Linked DNA regions of Homo sapiens: region 2 is linked to region 1. The links are contacts of gene promoters, found by promoter capture Hi-C in blood cells and fetal thymus (Javierre and others, 2016). All regions are on one chromosome and are shown on one strand. Each heading gives the region's core, a stretch centred on a gene start or on the middle of the fragment in contact. The rest is flanking DNA. Distances are from core to core; before and after follow the strand shown. Region 1 overlaps OBSCN (obscurin, cytoskeletal calmodulin and titin-interacting RhoGEF). Region 2 holds the start of H3-4 (H3.4 histone, cluster member).

Region 1 (4,257 bases), core at 1,093-3,592:
AATTTAACCTCATATATTCAGAAGAAATGTCTGGCAAAATTTAGCATCCATCATGCCATAAAATTCTTAACAAAGTATAAATAAAAGTTTTTTTTTCCTAATTTGACACAGGGTATTACACAAAAATCACAAAGGGAGACTTTGTAAGCTTTGCCTCTGAGCCAGGGGACAGCATGAGGAAGCCAGTGGTCAACACTTCCATCCAGCATTGGATGGCACAGTTAGGAGGAAAGTAAAACGAAAGGTGTAAAAGTTAGAAAAAAGTGAATTGACAGAATATACGGTTTACCTAGAAGATAAATTATTAGAGAGTTGAGAAAGATCAACCCTTGCAAGATCTGTGTGAAGAAACTTCCGTACATGTAGACTAGCAGCAAGCAGTTGGAAAATGAAAACGTAAAAGATTGACAGACGCCTCAAAGGCATCATGTTTATGATCCCAGTCTAATAAAAGATGTCGAGAGGTTCTGTGGGGGAAGCTATGAAACACTTTTGAGAGACAGTAAAGATCTAAAGTGGATAGAAGCCATGGAAGAATGAAAGACGTTCAGTCTCAATCAAAATCCAAACAAATGTGGTTTTGGGGGATGCAAGGTTGAAAAATGACAAGTGGATTTAAAGCTCCATACATGCTTGAAGAAGAGCCGCATGTGCAGGTACCCTAGTCCCTGCCCTGGAGGAGCTCATGCATGGAGGGTTTGTCATAGCTGCCCCACCTGTGATAGCCCATGGCGCCGTGCACAGTGGATAGACAAACTGTGATTCTTGCGCTGGGAGGTGGCAGGACTTCTCCTGGCCACGCAGCCAGTGCAGAGCCTGGGGAAGGTTCTGTTTCTCCTACTTCCTCATCCAGGCCCTCCTATCCTAGGGTGGTCTTCCTGACCTAGGCTGTATCTTTGACCTCGTATGTCCTTCCTTGTCCATCCCCAGAGCCCAAGGCGGTGTTTGCCAAGGAGCAGGTGGTGTTTGCCAAGGATCAGCCGGTGCACAGGGAGGTGCAGGCTGAGGCAGGGACCAGCACCATGCTGAGCTGCGAGGTGGCCCAAGCCCAGACGGAGGTTATGTGGTACAAGGACGGGAAGAAGCTGAGCTCCAGCTCGAAAATGCGTGTGGAGGCCGTGGGCTGCACACGGAGGCTGGTGGTGCAGGAGGCAGGCCAGGCGGACGCCGGGGAGTACAGCTGCGAGGCTGGGGGCCAGCGGCTCTCCTTCCATCTGCATGTGGCTGGTGGGTGCCAGGGTTAGGCAAAATGGAGGTGATGCTGAGTGTCGGGTGTGAAACTACAAGGGCATGTTTGGGCGGCCCAAGGTGCTGTGGGCCCTGGCACCTTCCCTCTATGTAGGCCTCAGAATCTGTGTCCCCAGCTCTCCCCAGCAGCTCTCAGGCCAGTGTCCTTATGTCATGAGACTAGAGCAGGCCCATGGGCTGAGTTGACCATGGTGTGTGCCCTGCAGTGGCTGAGCCGGGGGTGGTAGGGACAGTAGCATGATGTCCTTGGGGTGTGGGTCTGGGGTCTGGGTCCGGTCTCATGTGAGGACCCCTGTCTGGGTGGTAGGGACAGTAGCGTGATGTCCTCGGGGGTCTGGGGTCCGGGTCTGGTCAGATGTGATGATTTCTGTCTGGGTGGTGGGGACAGTGGTGTGATGTCCTTGGGGTGGGGGTCTGGGTCTGGTCTAATGTGATCTGCTGACTCCTCTGTGGGTGCTGGGCCATGGGAGGGCCCGGCAGTGACTGGAGAGCGTGTACTGGGTGGTGGGGGCTTGTCTCTGTGCTCTGGGCCCTAGATCTCTGTAAGCCTGTGCTGGGCCCCTTGGTCATCACCATGTGTCCACCTGTCTTTCTGATATCCATCTCCCTTCCACCCTGTCCCTGAGCTGGGGACAACAGACCACACTCAGCTTGGCACCCTCTTTCCAATGGCCCTGCCAACACTCCGCTGCCTCTGGGCTGGCCCAGGTTGCTGGTCCATCTCTCCTGACCCTTCACGTCCTACTGCCTGTGGCCCTGCGTGGTGGGGAGGGCTGGCGACAGGTGAGGGCCCCAGGGCCCTGGAAGACCGAGGCAGGGAAGGGGCCGCATCCTGTTCCCAAGGGACATGATGATGGTGCTGCCAACATGCAGCCTTAGACCTTTGGCTCTGGTAGTGCCGGGGGGAGCTCTGTGCGTCACCGTGCACTGCTTAATGATGGACAGCCCTGCCTGGCTGTCACTGGGCTGACACATGGGCTGTGTCTGCTCTGGAGCCTCTGACCCTGCATCCCTCCTTGTCCATCCCAGAGCCCAAGGTGGTGTTTGCCAAGGAGCAGCCGGCATGCAGGGAGGTGCAGGCGGAGGCGGGGGCCAGTGCCACGCTGAGCTGTGAGGTGGCCCAGGGCCAGATGGAGGTGACATGGTACAAGGACGGGAAGAAGCTGAGCTCCAGCTCAAAAGTGCACATGGAGGCCAGCGGCTACACACGGAGGCTGGTAGTGCAGCAGGCGGGCCAGGCGGATGCTGGGGAGTACAGCTGTGAGGCGGGGGGCCAACGGCTGTCCTTCCGCCTGCACGTGGCAGGTCAGTGCTTTGGGTGAATCCACCTCGCCTGAAGCTGATGGCCACACTGTATGGTCCCTGGGATTCTGGATGGTAGTTGATGGTGCTCAGGACTGCACTGGGCCATCCTTGAAGAGCAATGGGTATCAGGGGTGCCAGGTAGCATTAGGGTGGCCCTGAAGGGAGCGGGGCCGGTCCAGGGATGACAGGGTCCCCCTCTCATGCCAACTCACCTCTACCCAGAGCTGGAGCCCCAAATTTCAGAGAGACCCTGCCGCAGGGAGCCTCTGGTGGTCAAGGAGCATGAAGACATCATCCTGACCGCCACACTGGCCACACCCTCTGCGGCCACGGTGACCTGGCTCAAGGATGGTGTGGAGATTCGCCGCAGCAAGCGGCATGAGACAGCCAGCCAGGGGGACACCCACACCCTGACCGTGCATGGCGCCCAGGTTCTGGACAGCGCCATCTACAGCTGCCGTGTGGGCGCAGAGGGGCAGGACTTCCCAGTGCAGGTGGAAGGTGAGCCGGGCATGGGGCGTGGGGCGGGGACTCCTCCAGACACCTCTGTCCCAGAGCTGGACAGGGGCGAAGCTGGGGCTCAAGTCTGGTCTGTTAAGAGCCCGGCTGATGTCCCCTTTGTGCCCACAGAGGTGGCCGCCAAGTTCTGCCGGCTGCTGGAGCCTGTGTGCGGCGAGCTGGGTGGCACGGTGACACTGGCCTGCGAGCTAAGCCCAGCGTGTGCAGAGGTGGTGTGGCGCTGCGGCAACACGCAGCTTCGGGTGGGCAAGCGCTTCCAGATGGTGGCCGAGGGGCCCGTGCGCTCACTCACTGTGTTGGGGCTGCGCGCAGAGGACGCAGGGGAGTACGTGTGTGAGAGCCGTGATGACCACACCAGTGCGCAGCTCACCGTCAGTGGTATGTAAGGGGTCGAGTGTCCCTATCCAGGGCAGCCTCCTGGAGGAGGCGGCCTTTGGTACTCCTGCAGCGTAAGGGCTCTGCCAGTCCTGTGCGCCCGCCTCTTAAGCAGTGCTCCTGTCTGCAGTGCCCCGAGTGGTGAAGTTTATGTCTGGGCTGAGCACCGTGGTCGCAGAGGAGGGCGGCGAGGCCACCTTCCAGTGCGTGGTGTCCCCCAGTGATGTGGCAGTCGTGTGGTTCCGGGACGGTGCCCTGCTTCAGCCCAGCGAGAAGTTTGCCATATCACAGAGTGGCGCCAGCCACAGCCTGACCATCTCAGACCTGGTGCTGGAGGACGCGGGCCAGATCACCGTGGAGGCTGAGGGCGCCTCATCCTCTGCTGCCCTGAGGGTCCGAGGTGAGTGTGGGGGGCAGCAGGATTTGCCTGGCTGGCCAGGGCTCCTTGCACAGGCACCTCCCCTGTGGGCTGGTTCTGAGTGGGCACCTGGAACTGCTGTCCTGTTACGGCTGGTCCGGCTGACCTCAGGAGACACGGGGTGTGTGGGCTGCAGAGAGGAGACTCCGGTAGGCTGGATGGGCCAGGTGCCTTCTCTTGGTATAGAGAAGATACAATCCTGCAGTTGCACCTGGTGGGGAATGGGGGGAGGCTGAGGCAATCCAGGGAGGCTTTCTGGAGTAGGTGGGTGCATACTTAGCCTGATGGATGGCAGGGAAGAGAGAGTGGGGTTAGCACCAGTGCAAGCAGTGACATGGGCTTCCCATGCTGCTGAAGCCAGAAGCCAGAACTTGCCCTGAAGGGAAGTGGGA
Region 2 (4,021 bases), core at 274-2,773, 150 kb after region 1:
CACCACAGCTACATATGTGTGCACATGGGTGCACGTGCACACACACACACCCCTAGCCAGCCTTCTAACCTAATGGGAGATAGCCCAAGTTAAAAAGATACACAACTAGCCAGCCTTCTAAATTAACAGGAGGTAGGCTGAGTTAAAACACACAAGTAGCTGGACTTTTTTTTGTTTTTTTTTTTGAGATTGAGTCTCGTTCTGTTGCCCACGCTGCAGTGCAGTGGCATGATCTTGGCTCACTGCAACCTCCGCCCCCTGGGTTCAAGCAGTTCTCCTGCCTCAGCCTCCCAAGTAGCTGGGATTACAGGTATGCGCCACCAAACCCGGCTAATTTTAGAGATGGGGTTTCACCATGTTGGCCAGGCTGGTCTGGAACTCCTGACCTCAGGTGATACACCCGCCTCGGCCTCCCAAAGTGCTGGGATTACAGGCGTAAGCTGCTATGCTGGTGAAGTAGCTGGACTTCTAACTTAAAATAGGCCAAGATAATACATACTACTTGCTGGCCTTAACAGGAGATGGGCTGTCAAGGCAGAAGACTAGCTGGACTGGTAACCTCACTGGAAACAAGCTGCGTGTACACACACACACACACACGCAGGACTTCTAACCTAATTTGAAAGAGGCTGAGCTGAGAACACACAAGACCAGCCAGCCTTCCAACCTAACTGTAGATAGGCTGAGTTGACACAACTAGCTGGGGTTGCTTACCTAACTGGAGATAGACCAATTAGGCTACCCTCAACACCCCGTCCCCAAAACAGACCAACCATGATTCTTATCTAAACGGATAGGCCAAGTTAGCCCCACACACTACTAGCTGGATTTGTGACTGGAGACAGGCTGAGAGGTAACGCGTGTGAGTAGCTGGCCTCCTAACTGGACAGGGTGAACACAGGATTCACCAGCCTCCCACCCTAATCAGAAGTAGGTAAGCCAGCACAGGCCAGCGGAAGGAACCCCCCGAAACCCAAGAGACTAGCTTGCTACAGCAACTCTTCGACCAGGTGGGTGGCTCTTAAAAGAGCCTTTGGGGTGAACGTTGCGCAACCTCTCAGGTGGCGAGATAGCCCTCCTAGGCCCGCTCCCCGCGGATACGGCGTGCCAGCTGGATGTCCTTAGGCATGATGGTGACCCGTTTGGCATGGATGACACACAGGTTGGTGTCCTCAAACAGCCCCACCAGGTAAGACTCGCACGCCTCCTGCAGCGCCATCACGGCCGAGCTCTGGAAGCGCAGGTCGGTCTTAAAGTCCTGAGCGATCTCGCGCATCAGCCGCTGGAAGGGCAACTTGCGGATTAGCAGCTCAGTGGACTTCTGGTAGCGGCGGATCTCGCGAAGCGCCACCGTGCCGGGCCGGTAGCGGTGCGGCTTCTTCACGCCGCCAGTGGCAGGTGCGCTCTTGCGAGCCACCTTGGTGGCCAGCTGCTTGCGCGGCGCCTTGCCACCCGTTGACTTGCGCGCAGTCTGCTTGGTTCGGGCCATGAATCCGAAACTGTTGGCCCCGCGGTGTCCTCTGCCCAGACCTCAGCGGATTGCTCGCTTTTATAGAGCTTGCCGCGTTCCCATTGGCTGGCCTCAGGTGGCGTGATGGCCCACTGCTCTCTGATTGGCCCACAGGGAACTCCACTCGGGCGCCTCTCCCTTATATTCATGCCTGTTGGTCGTGGCCACCAGAGCTGGCACCAGCATTGTGAAGGGTTGATGCGGGTAGGCCGCGGTGGTGGGGATCATCTCTCTCCAGCACAAGCTTCCTCATGTCTTCTCAGCGCTCCTCTTCTCCCTTCCCCATGACTTGGGTGGCAAGAGCCTTCCAGAAGCCAGCACATGGCATTCCACTTTTTTAAAAAATTAATTTATTTTTTTATTTTTTGAGATGGAGTTTCACTCTTGTTGCCCAGGCTGGAGTGCAATAGCGTGATCTCTGCTTACTGCAACCTCCACCTCCCAGGTTCAAGCGATTCTCCTGCCTCAGCCTCCCGAGTAACTGGAATTACAGGGATTACAGGTGTCCGCCACCATGCCTGGCTAATTTTTTGTGTTTTTAATAGAGATGGGGTTTCACCATATTGGCCAGGCTGGTCTCGAACTCCTGACCTCAGGTGATCCACCCGCCTCGGCCTCCCAAAGTGCTGGGATTACAGGCATGAGCCACCAGGCCCAGCTGGCATTTCACTTTTTTTTTTTTTTTTTTGAGACGGAGTCTCTCTCTGTCGCCCAGGCTGGAGTGCAGTGGCGCAATCCCAGCTCACTGCAAGCTCCGCCTCCCGGGTTCACGCCATTCTCCTGCCTCAGCCTACAGAGTAGCTGGGACTACAGGTGCCCGCCATCATGCCTGGCTAATTTTGTTTTGTATTTTTAGTAGAGACGGGGTTTCACCATGTTAGCCAGGATGGTCTCGATCTCCTGACCTCGTGATCCGCCCGCCTCGGCCTCCCAAAGTGTTGGGATTACAGGCGTGAGCCAGCGTGCCCGGCCGGCATTCCACTTTTACACAGTGACAAAGCTCTGGGATGCAGCCAGAGTTAAAGGAATCTCCCACTTTTTATGACCTGCAAAGAACTCCCTTACCTGTACGGCTTAGATGAGCCTTAGGATTCTGAAGAAGGTAAAGATGTGCCTTTCTGGCATATTGTCTATTTTGAGATAAAGGCACTTAAAAAAAAAAAAGAAGAAGCAGGTGTAGGAAGATCATTCTGAATTTCTTGTTGTTTCTTAAATACAAGAGATGAAATTCCCATATGAAAGATGTTCTCCTTATAGTAAAAGCAAGGGAACGTTCTTATCATCAAGGACGGGAGGTGGAAGCTTCCAAATCTCCTCCAACTCTCAAGTTGAAATTTGATCCCTAAAGTTGGAGCCCAGGGAGGGGGGGGCCAGTGGGAGGTGTGTGGGTCCTGGGGTGTCACCCTCTGAATAGAGTCCTGCCCTCCTTTAGGGTGAGTTTTCACTCTGTTGGTTCCCTGAAGAGCTGGTGTTGAAAAGAGCCTGGCACCCCTCTCCCCTCTCTCTCTGGCGTCCTCTCTCGCGGCAGCCCTGTGACCTCTGCACATACATGGGTTCCCCTTCACCTTCCACCATGAGCAGAAGCAGCCAGAGGCCCTCACCAGAAGCAGAGGTGGGCCCTATGCTTGCTTCCTTCCTTTCTCCCTCCCTCCCTTCCTTTCTCCTTCCCTCCCTTCCTCACTCCCTCCCTTCCTTTCTCCTTCCCTCCCTTCCTTTCTCCTTCCCTCCCTTCCTTTCTCCTTCCCTCCCTTCCTTTCTCCTTCCCTCCCTTCCTCACTCCCTCCCTCCCTTCCTTTTTTTCTTCTCCCTTCCCCTCCCCTCCTTTCCCTCCTTTTTTCATCTTGCTCTGTTGCCCAGGCCCCTCTTACCTCAGCCTCCCAAGTAGCTGGGACCACATCCAGCTAATTTTTAAATTTTTAATTTTTTTGTAGAGATGGGCTGTCATTATGTTGCCCAAGCTGGTCTTGAATTCCTGAGTTCAACTGATCCCCCGACCTTGGCCTCCCAAAGTGCTAGGATTACACCGTGCCCGGCCACTATGCTTTTTTTTTTTTAATTTTTTGACCTGAGTCTCACTCTGTTGCCCAGGCTGGAGTGCAGTGATGTGATCTCAGCCCACTGCAACATCCGCCTCCCGGGAAGTTCAAGCGACTCTCCTGCCTCAGCCTCCTGAGTAGCTGGGATTACAGGCGTGAGCCACTGCGCCCAGCCACTGTGCTTCTTGTACAGCCTGCGAAACCATAAGCCAAATAAACCTTTTTTTTTTTTAATAAATCATCCAGCCTCAGGTATTCCTTTAACAACATGAAACAGACCAAGATAGAAGCCAAGAGAAATCTATACAAACAAACTTTATTAAACTAACCCTTATCTTCCTAGTTGTTGCCACAGTTACTACTCTTTGTTCAACCTAGTGTGTAAGTATTTTGACTTAGTCATTTCTTCACCCCATTAACTATCCTCACTCAAGCCCCGTGGCCGTATCAAATCTCACAACTTAATAGTGTTTGT

What was found. The method cuts DNA at HindIII sites, captures the fragments that hold promoters and counts their contacts. A CHiCAGO score of 5 or more calls a contact.
Region 2: the fragment with the promoter of H3-4 here is called in contact with a fragment that was not itself captured in region 1 in 1 of 17 cell types (erythroblasts); the score reaches 5.2 in erythroblasts.

What each region holds. Positions count from the first base shown.
Region 1 is chr1:228,270,995-228,275,251 of GRCh38, forward strand. OBSCN (obscurin, cytoskeletal calmodulin and titin-interacting RhoGEF) reads left to right here. Exons shown (of 116, transcript NM_001386125.1): 20 at 931-1,227; 21 at 2,278-2,553; 22 at 2,776-3,054; 23 at 3,184-3,450; 24 at 3,578-3,847. LOC124904535 (a long non-coding RNA gene) reads right to left here. Exons shown (of 3, transcript XR_007066916.1): 2 at 2,766-4,076. Among named protein-coding and RNA genes, the nearest start is that of OBSCN-AS1, 59 kb to the left of the region's middle. The HindIII fragment of the contact is 4,392 bases long and covers 147-4,257 here.
Region 2 is chr1:228,423,837-228,427,857 of GRCh38, forward strand. H3-4 (H3.4 histone, cluster member) reads right to left here and starts at 1,524. Exons shown (of 1, transcript NM_003493.3): 1 at 1,009-1,524. The coding sequence starts at 1,489. The coding sequence ends at 1,079. The HindIII fragment of the contact is 2,523 bases long and covers 1-1,752 here.